Linked DNA regions of Homo sapiens: region 1 is linked to region 2. Evidence: promoter capture Hi-C in 16 types of primary human blood cells and fetal thymus (Javierre and others, 2016). All regions are on one chromosome and are shown on one strand. The core of a region is centred on a gene start or on the middle of the fragment in contact, and the rest is flanking DNA. Distances in the headings are between cores, read along the strand shown.

Evidence for each region. Contacts are between HindIII fragments. The CHiCAGO score rates a contact against its expected background, and 5 or more counts as called.
Region 1: a fragment that was not itself captured here is called in contact with the fragment with the promoter of MCTP2 in region 2 in 5 of 17 cell types (M0 macrophages, neutrophils, naive CD8 T cells and 2 more); the score reaches 7.5 in M0 macrophages.

The regions. Positions count from the first base shown.
Region 1 is chr15:93,022,009-93,025,973 of GRCh38, forward strand. It overlaps CHD2 (chromodomain helicase DNA binding protein 2), which reads left to right. Exons shown (of 39, transcript NM_001271.4): 39 at 2,364-3,965. The coding sequence ends at 2,697. Among named protein-coding and RNA genes, the nearest start is that of RGMA, 65 kb to the right of the region's middle. The HindIII fragment of the contact is 5,768 bases long and covers 1-3,965 here.
Region 2 is chr15:94,229,737-94,233,567 of GRCh38, forward strand. MCTP2 (multiple C2 and transmembrane domain containing 2) reads left to right here and starts at 1,825. Exons shown (of 23, transcript NM_001385001.1): 1 at 1,825-1,928. RefSeq lists an enhancer at 80-219 and a silencer at 1,755-1,884. The HindIII fragment of the contact is 9,020 bases long and covers 93-3,831 here.

The sequences.
Region 1 (3,965 bases), core at 335-2,834, 1.2 Mb before region 2:
TTCGTTAGGTAGAACCAGAGCAGTGCTCAGTCAAGGGCTAATGATTGCCCACCCCCAAGGTAAAGAGCCTCATTGCACTCTACCCAATTGCGTTAGTCTGTTTTGCAGGAATACCTGAGGCTGGGTAATTTATAGAGAAAAGAGTTTTATTTGGCGCACAGTTCCGCAGGCTGTACAAGCATAGCACCAGCATCTGGTTGGCTTCTGGAGAGGCCTCAGGGAGCTTTTACTCATGGTGGAAGGTGAAGTGGCAGTAGGCGTCCCATGGCAAGAGAGGGAGCAAGAGAGAGAGGAGGAGGTGCCAGCCTCTTTTAAAGCACCAGCTCTCACGTGAACTCAGAGAACTCACTCATTATCACAAGGACAGCACCAAGCCATTTATGAGGGATCTGCCCAAACACCTCCCACTACAACATTGGAGGTCACATTTCAACATGAGATTTGGAGGGGACACATACCCAAACCGTATCACCATCTGGAGGTCTTTGGTGTGGCTGGTGAGAACAGGCACGATGCCAGTTCTTTGTGAGCACAGGGCACTGTTACCTTCAGTCTTTTCGGGTGGTCCTTTCCCTGGCCTTGGGTAGTTTCCCCACATGCACATCCTAAGCAGTATTCAGCTGTATACCTGGGAACCCTCTGTAGATCTTCAAACTTCTTTCTCTGCAGCACTGTCTTCTCTCATGCCATGCCCTGTGAACTCTGGCCACCTTGGTTCCCCATCCCTCACCTTGGGAAGCCAACTGGTGTCTTTCTGGGTTTCCTTCTTCCTGTGTCACAGCCTGAGGGACTATCTCATGATAGTGAACAGGAGCCGTTAAAAGGCTCATTTCATTAGTGTCCATTCCTCAGGGATCACTGTTCTTCATTGCCTGATGTCTGGTGTCTTGAAAACCACTGTTCTATGCATTTTGTCCCTTTTGGCTGTTTCAGGCAGGATGGTAAATCTAGTCCCTGTTATTCCATTTTGACTGGAACTTGAGATTGCTCACTTCTTCCTCCCTCTTTCTTTCATTGAGGTGAAATTCATATTACATAAAGGAACTATTTTAAAGCGAACAACTGAATGACCTTAGTGCATTTATAATATTGGGCAGCCACCACTTCTATCTAGTTCCAAAACACTTTCATCAGTCAGAGAAAACCCTATAACCATTAAATAATCCTTCCCCATTATTCCCTCTCCCCAGCCTCTGGCAGCCACCAGTTTGCATTCTGTCTCTCTGGATTTGCCTGTTCTAGACATTTCATATAGAAAGAGTCATACAATATGTGACCTTTTGTGTCTGGCTTCTTTCACTTAGCATAATGTTTTCAAGGTTCATTCATCAGTACTCATTCCATCCTTATGGCTGAATAATATTTCGTTGTGTGGATATATACCACATTTTGTTTATCCATTCATCTGTTGATGGACATTTGAGTTGTTTCCATCTTTGGGCTGTTGTGAATAATGCTGCAGTGAAGATTGGTGTACAGGTACTTGACTACCTGTTTTCAGTTTTGGATATGTGCCTGGGAGTGGAATTATTAGTCATATTCTTTACGTTTTTAGGAAACACCAAAATGTTTCTACGATGGCTGAACCATTTTACATTCCTACCAGCAATGTGTAAGAGTTGAAGGTTTTCCTTATCTTTGCCAACACTTATTTCCTGGGTTTTTTTTTTGTGTTTTTTTTTAATGAGTATCTCCATCTTCGTGGGTGTGAAGTAGTCTCATTGTGGCTTGAACATGCATTTCCCTAGTGATTAATGACATGGAGCATCTTCTCATGGTTTTTTTTGGCCATTTGTATAGCTTCTTTGGAGAAATGTCTGTTCAAATCCTTTGCCTGTTTTTGAGTTGGGTTGTTTTTGTTGTTGAGTTTTAGTAATTCTTTTTTTAATGGTATCATGAGCAGTTTACCATGGTCCAAGCTAAAAATTTTAATACTCTTCACACTGAGTTGGTTTTTAAGATAATTTTATTAACTAGTCACTCACTTGTTGCATATTTAGGTTGATGGTGTTATTAATAACTTACAAAATAATTTCTGTGGCTCTTTTTCTCATGGGCTGGGTCCAGGAATATGGTAATGTTTATGGATCTTACCAGATTTTTCCTAAAGGGAGTGAGTTTGCAAAAGCCATCAGTAATTTTTCAAGTGTGTACTTGTGTCACTGCACACTTGAGCCTTATTTCATAGGATGTATTTTGCTAATAAGTGTAAAATGACTCTGTTATTAATTTTTTTGATTCCTAATAATGTGAGCATTTGTCCTTGAATATGAGTATATGAGGAAGAGCCAAGTGGGTAGTGAAGAGAAGTGGATGGGAATCTGGCTTCAGTCTTTCGACTAATCCTTGCATCTCTATTTCAGGCACCATCATGACTCCAAGCGGAGGAGATCCGATGAATTTAGGCCTCAAAATTACCACCAGCAGGATTTCCGACGAATGTCTGATCACCGCCCCGCTATGGGCTACCATGGCCAGGGACCCTCAGACCATTACCGCTCTTTCCACACAGATAAACTGGGGGAATATAAACAGCCTCTACCCCCATTGCACCCTGCAGTCTCAGATCCTCGCTCACCCCCTTCTCAGAAATCTCCTCACGATTCCAAGTCACCCCTGGATCATAGGTCTCCTTTGGAGAGATCACTAGAACAGAAAAACAACCCAGATTATAACTGGAATGTTCGGAAAACATAAAGGACAGCTCGTAAAGGAGAGAGTAAGAGTCACCAAACACGTGGATATTTTTGGTCTGATCCTACAGTAGCCGGTTATCTAGACCAGTAAGTGGAGTTTTGGACATGCTGCTGCTGTCAACTCACTGGCTGAAGGAGCACTTCAAGGAATGGGAGGCCTTTCACTGGGTCCAGCTCTGATTCGGGTCACCACTCCTGCACTTTGGCACCCCATCCCATTCCAGCCTAGTTCTGGCCTCCCACTTTGACGGGCACTTGGAGGAGGAGCTGACTGTGTGTGTACCAGCTTCACTGGGATGTGTTTCCCCAGTCAAGGAACAGGGGATCTTCAGAGTCATGAATGTTTTCTTGCCAGGGTCAGTGTTCCCAGGACCTTAGTGCATGGTCGGGGCAGGAACTGGTGCATGGAGGCTGCTGGGACCTGGTGAACAGTGTGTGATTTGGTTGATTTGGTTCACTCTGACATGATGGATGCTGCTGATGGGGAGTGGCGAGTTGGGGCAAGCGGGTGGGGACAAGCATAGGACTTGAAGGGGAGCAGGTACACCCCTCAAATGTGTTCTTGGGAGAAGTGATACACTCGGCCTCATTATGTGAAACCTGTGGGTGGGGTTGGGGTGGAGAAGTAGAGAGAGGGCAACAGCTTCCACAACTGCTTCATCTCTGCCAACACTAATTTTTCCCACACTGTCTTTGTACATTTCAGAGCTTTGGTCTCCTGAGTGGGCCTCCTTTTCCCACTGTGCCAGGGAAGGTAGGTTTCTCTGGCTGACTGAGTACTGTGAGTGAGGCAACACTGATGCCAGCATGGGTCTTACTTGACTGGGGAGTAGGCTGAGTGAGGGGTAGGGTGGGGTAGGTGGGGAGTAGTGTGGCCAGGGAACTGGAATCCCTGGTGGATTTCTGATTCCTGTGGTGAGAAGGAAAGCTACAGGACCTGGAGAAGGGGATGCAGAGGCAGGCCTGCTGACCAACTTGTTGCAATCACAAAGGTGGGGGTCCTGGTGCAGGCAGTGAACAGGCTTCTAATGTGGGGTTCAGTAGTGCCAGCAAGTGGGGGAAACTTTCAGTATTGCGCTAGGTCAACACTTCCTGCTGCATTTCCTTCCCTTTGCACAGCTTGAAGAAATAGAGTAGACAGAATCACACATCATGTGGTGGGCAGATGGAAATAAGTACCTGTGGTGAACAAGTTTCTACTGTAGTTGGAGATCATTAGAATTGAATTCAGTTTCTCTTAGAATATAATCAGGTATAAACCTAAGTTAA
Region 2 (3,831 bases), core at 575-3,074:
ACTTTCTATACCATTTAATGATTGAAAAATGCGGTTGGACTGCCGGAACCACAGAACAGGAACTCCACTGGGGCAGGAGTTAAAGGCAAAAAAGCTTTTGTGTGGGTTCACTTACTATTTTAATTCATTTGTATTCTTAGTCAGCTTTAAAGGTATGATTGCTTCGTCTGCCTACTGCTCTTTCTCTTCTTCCTTTCATGCTGTTTTACCCTTACCTCTCTCTGTTCTCTGCTAGGGGATGTAACCTTCGGCACGGTGGGAAAAGCCAATTTTGCCATAGGCCTCAGCTTGCTCTGACTCGGCTACTAACTTGACTCATAGCTTCAGGCAGGTTATTTCATGGTTCTGATGCTCATTTTCCTCATCTTGAATCAGAGATTTTATTAACTGTCTCCTGGTTTGTGAAAATTCAATATGATCACGTGTTACATGCCAATCACAGAAACTGGTGCGAAGTTGTGTTCCTCAGTGGTAGCTATTGTTGTAAGTCGGAATTGCATGACAGTGGCAGCTGTTTTCTATCACGTCCTCATGTTTTCTAAATTTTTATGCCCCTTCCTCCCATTTCCTACCTTAGTATTGTTAATAGCTAACTTTTATTAAGTGGTTACCATGGCCCAGGACACTGTAATGAGGATTTTATGTGAATTACCTAATTAATTTCTCAGAAAGTATGAGATAGCTATTATTTTAAGCTATTTAAGCTATTTTAAGCTATTTAAACAACCAGTTTGTTGAAGTTAAAATTTAGAGAGGTTAAGTGAACTCGTCCATTTACACAATTAGTTGCCCAGGCAGAATTTGATTTGAGGTCTGACTCCAAAGCCGGAGCTCTTAATCACCAGTGACACCAACTAAACGCTTCATTTCAGAGCTCGCCTATTCCCAGAGGTCCCATTCCCGTTTTAAGGTTATTTTCTGTAACTCTCTTGTATCTAATTTAAAAATGCTATTTCCCAGAGATGAGTCCCTGATCTCCCAGAAGGCATGGATCATACATTTCTTTTCCTAATCCACCCAAATTCCTAGAGCGCACAGACTTAGGCTCGTTCATAGACGGGAAAAGAAACTGACCAGGCAGTGAAACCGAGCAAACAAAGTGCAATAAGACAATTACAGCAGGAAAGCGGCGTAAAAAAAAGTAGAAAAAGAAAGTAAGGGAAAGGGGAAATAAATAGCAAATATTCGCTGAGTGCCAACAATCGCACGGGAGGGTCTTTAGGGTTCTCTGCCGAGTACTCGGGACGGCTTGCTGAGCAGTACGCCGGCCTTATCTCATAGATGAGGCACCAAGGCTCAGGAAACAGTTCTGTGGATCTGGGCGGGCATCTTCCACCCACAGTCGCGCACACGTGGCATAGGTTAATAGGCTGTCTGGCTCGGGTACCTCTTCCCAGGGTCAGGGCGTTACAAAGGGAGGCTGCTGTCTTCCCATGAATCTATTAGGGACCTACAGGAGCGAAGAGAACCCTTCTGAGTATCAGCGAAGACAGCTTATTAAGACTTTACGAGTTTGCAAGCCATCCTCGTCCTATTTCCTCACTTCGGACTTTTTGGACACACCTTCCTTTTCCTGTGAGCCAACCCAAACGAATGAGTTACAAGTAATCGCCTTCTCTACGCCCAGCCAGTGCCCAGCACCAAGCATAGCGCCTCCTTGCAACACCCGGCCGAGCTCCCGGCGGCAGCGCGGGCGCTTGGGTCGGAGGCTGCTCAAAGGTGACGCGCGGCCGCCTCCTCCCCTTTAGGCGGGGCTCGCAAGGGCGGTGGGGGGGCCCGAGGAAGTCCGGGGGCCCTCGGTGATGCCCCCGCCCCCGCCGCGTCAGGGTTGCTCCCTGCGCTTCCGAGTGGCGACTGCAGCGGGTCCGGTGCAGGTGAGGGGCGCGCGCCTGCCCAGCTTTGCAGCCCCCGAACGCGGCCTCGCACAGGTGAGGGCGGTGCCGGGTTCACCTGGCAGCGCGCGTGGGCCGGGCAGCACGGTCGCCGCCTGGGGGTGGGCGTCTTCTCTCAACCGAAGCTGGGAGTTGGGGAGCTGGAGGGTCCAGGATGAGAATTCAGTGGCGCTACTACCCCGGAGCTGCTTGTGGTTCAGAGATCAGAAAGGTGTCCTGAGGACTGGAGGCAGAAATCCAGGCGTGGCGTACTGGAAGGCGCACTAGGGGAGGGCAGCCTGGCCCAGAATTTCTTTGCATTTTAAAGGCCACACATTCAGTCTCCCCGGGGCGCTACGGAGGTAGTCACCGCCACATCCAGGACTCCTTCCACAGAGGTCAGTTCCTCAGCTGGGTGGGCTTTAATACGCTCTCTTCGTAGAGACCCGGAGGTTCAACTTTAATTCTTTGCGCTGACATTTGCTCAACGACACCGGAGCAGAAATCCTTGGGATAATTGCGTAGGTAACAAACAGTGTCTCAATCCCACTGAAGATAAGTAAGTTAAAAATAAAGACAGTGATGTTGGTGGTGAACTTGAGTGGCGATTAGTTTCCGCAATTAGTTCCCTCCTGCACTGTCCATTTGTTAAGCAAATGTGCTGACGGCTTTTTTTAAATGATTGGGTTGCCATAAAAGAGGTTTTCTCTAGTCTGAATGAACTTCTGTGCGATGCTGACTGAGGGTTTCAGCCTCCTCTAGATGCTTACAAGAGCTTGGTCTGGAAGGTACAAGGGTGCGAACCCTTAAGGTACCAAGCAGCTTCTCAGTGAACCGTGAGACGTTAGAACACTTGCTTCAGGACGCACAGAATTCAGACACCACTTATTGAAGGATTTGTATGGATTATAATTTACATTAGCATTCATTTTTTGCTTGAGTCAGTAGCATTTCAATTCAACAAATATTTATTGTACACCTGTTAACGGGCAGACCTCTGAGAGCCGGGCTGGTGTGCTGTTGGGTAGCACAGGTGTTGATATTAATACAAAGGGGAATCTTAAGGCACTTATTCCTCACAGGTGGGTGTTTAGAACGAGACCAATGGTGCTGCGCTTTGCCTCAGCAGCACCTGTGTAATCGCTGGTTATAAGTATTTAAATGCAGGGAGAATGTAAATCTTTGAAGAGTCTCTGTCATTAGCCTGATCAGTCATTCCAAAGCAATAAAAATTGTCAAAACCATGCTTAAAATAAGATTATTAAGAATTAGCTCTGTGCCAAGCACCATGCTAGGCACTTTGTCTTGTCTATGAAATCTACAAAGTAGATACTATTCCCCTGTGCAGATAAGGAACTGAGGCAGAGAGGAGTCCAGTAATTTGTACAAGGTCAGTGGTGAATTTAGAAATTGCATGTGGCTATTTCTGAGTGCAGAACTCGTACTTTTTCACTATTCCATGCTGTCTCTAAGATGGAGAGTGTAAATCCGGCAGATTTAATATAAGAATTCAAATTTATATTCATAGATCCTATCTCCTGGGGATTAATGGAGTTAAAGTAGTCCTCAGGAATGAAGTGAGCACTGTTTTCATTGCACTTGTGTGGTCAAGCTGTGACCTATCTGTGACTAGTAGATGTAGCTTTAAAAGATAAAATTTATTATGTGTCTTAACATATTTTGAAAGGCCTTTCAAAATATGTTAAAAGATAAAATTTATTATGTCTCTTAACATATTTTGAAAGGCCTGATATATCCAAACAGGGCCAATTAATAAAATTGCATATATATTCTCTCTGTGTTATACATGGAAGGAACAGCTAATTTCCTATTATTGGTGTGCTTTACTATGGTCTCCTCCTGCAGAGGTGAGTTTCTCAGCTGAGTGGGCTTTGAAATCAATTTCAGCTTGATTTCTTACAGCTGCAAGATGATTAGCGGTCTCTTGTCACCTGGAAAG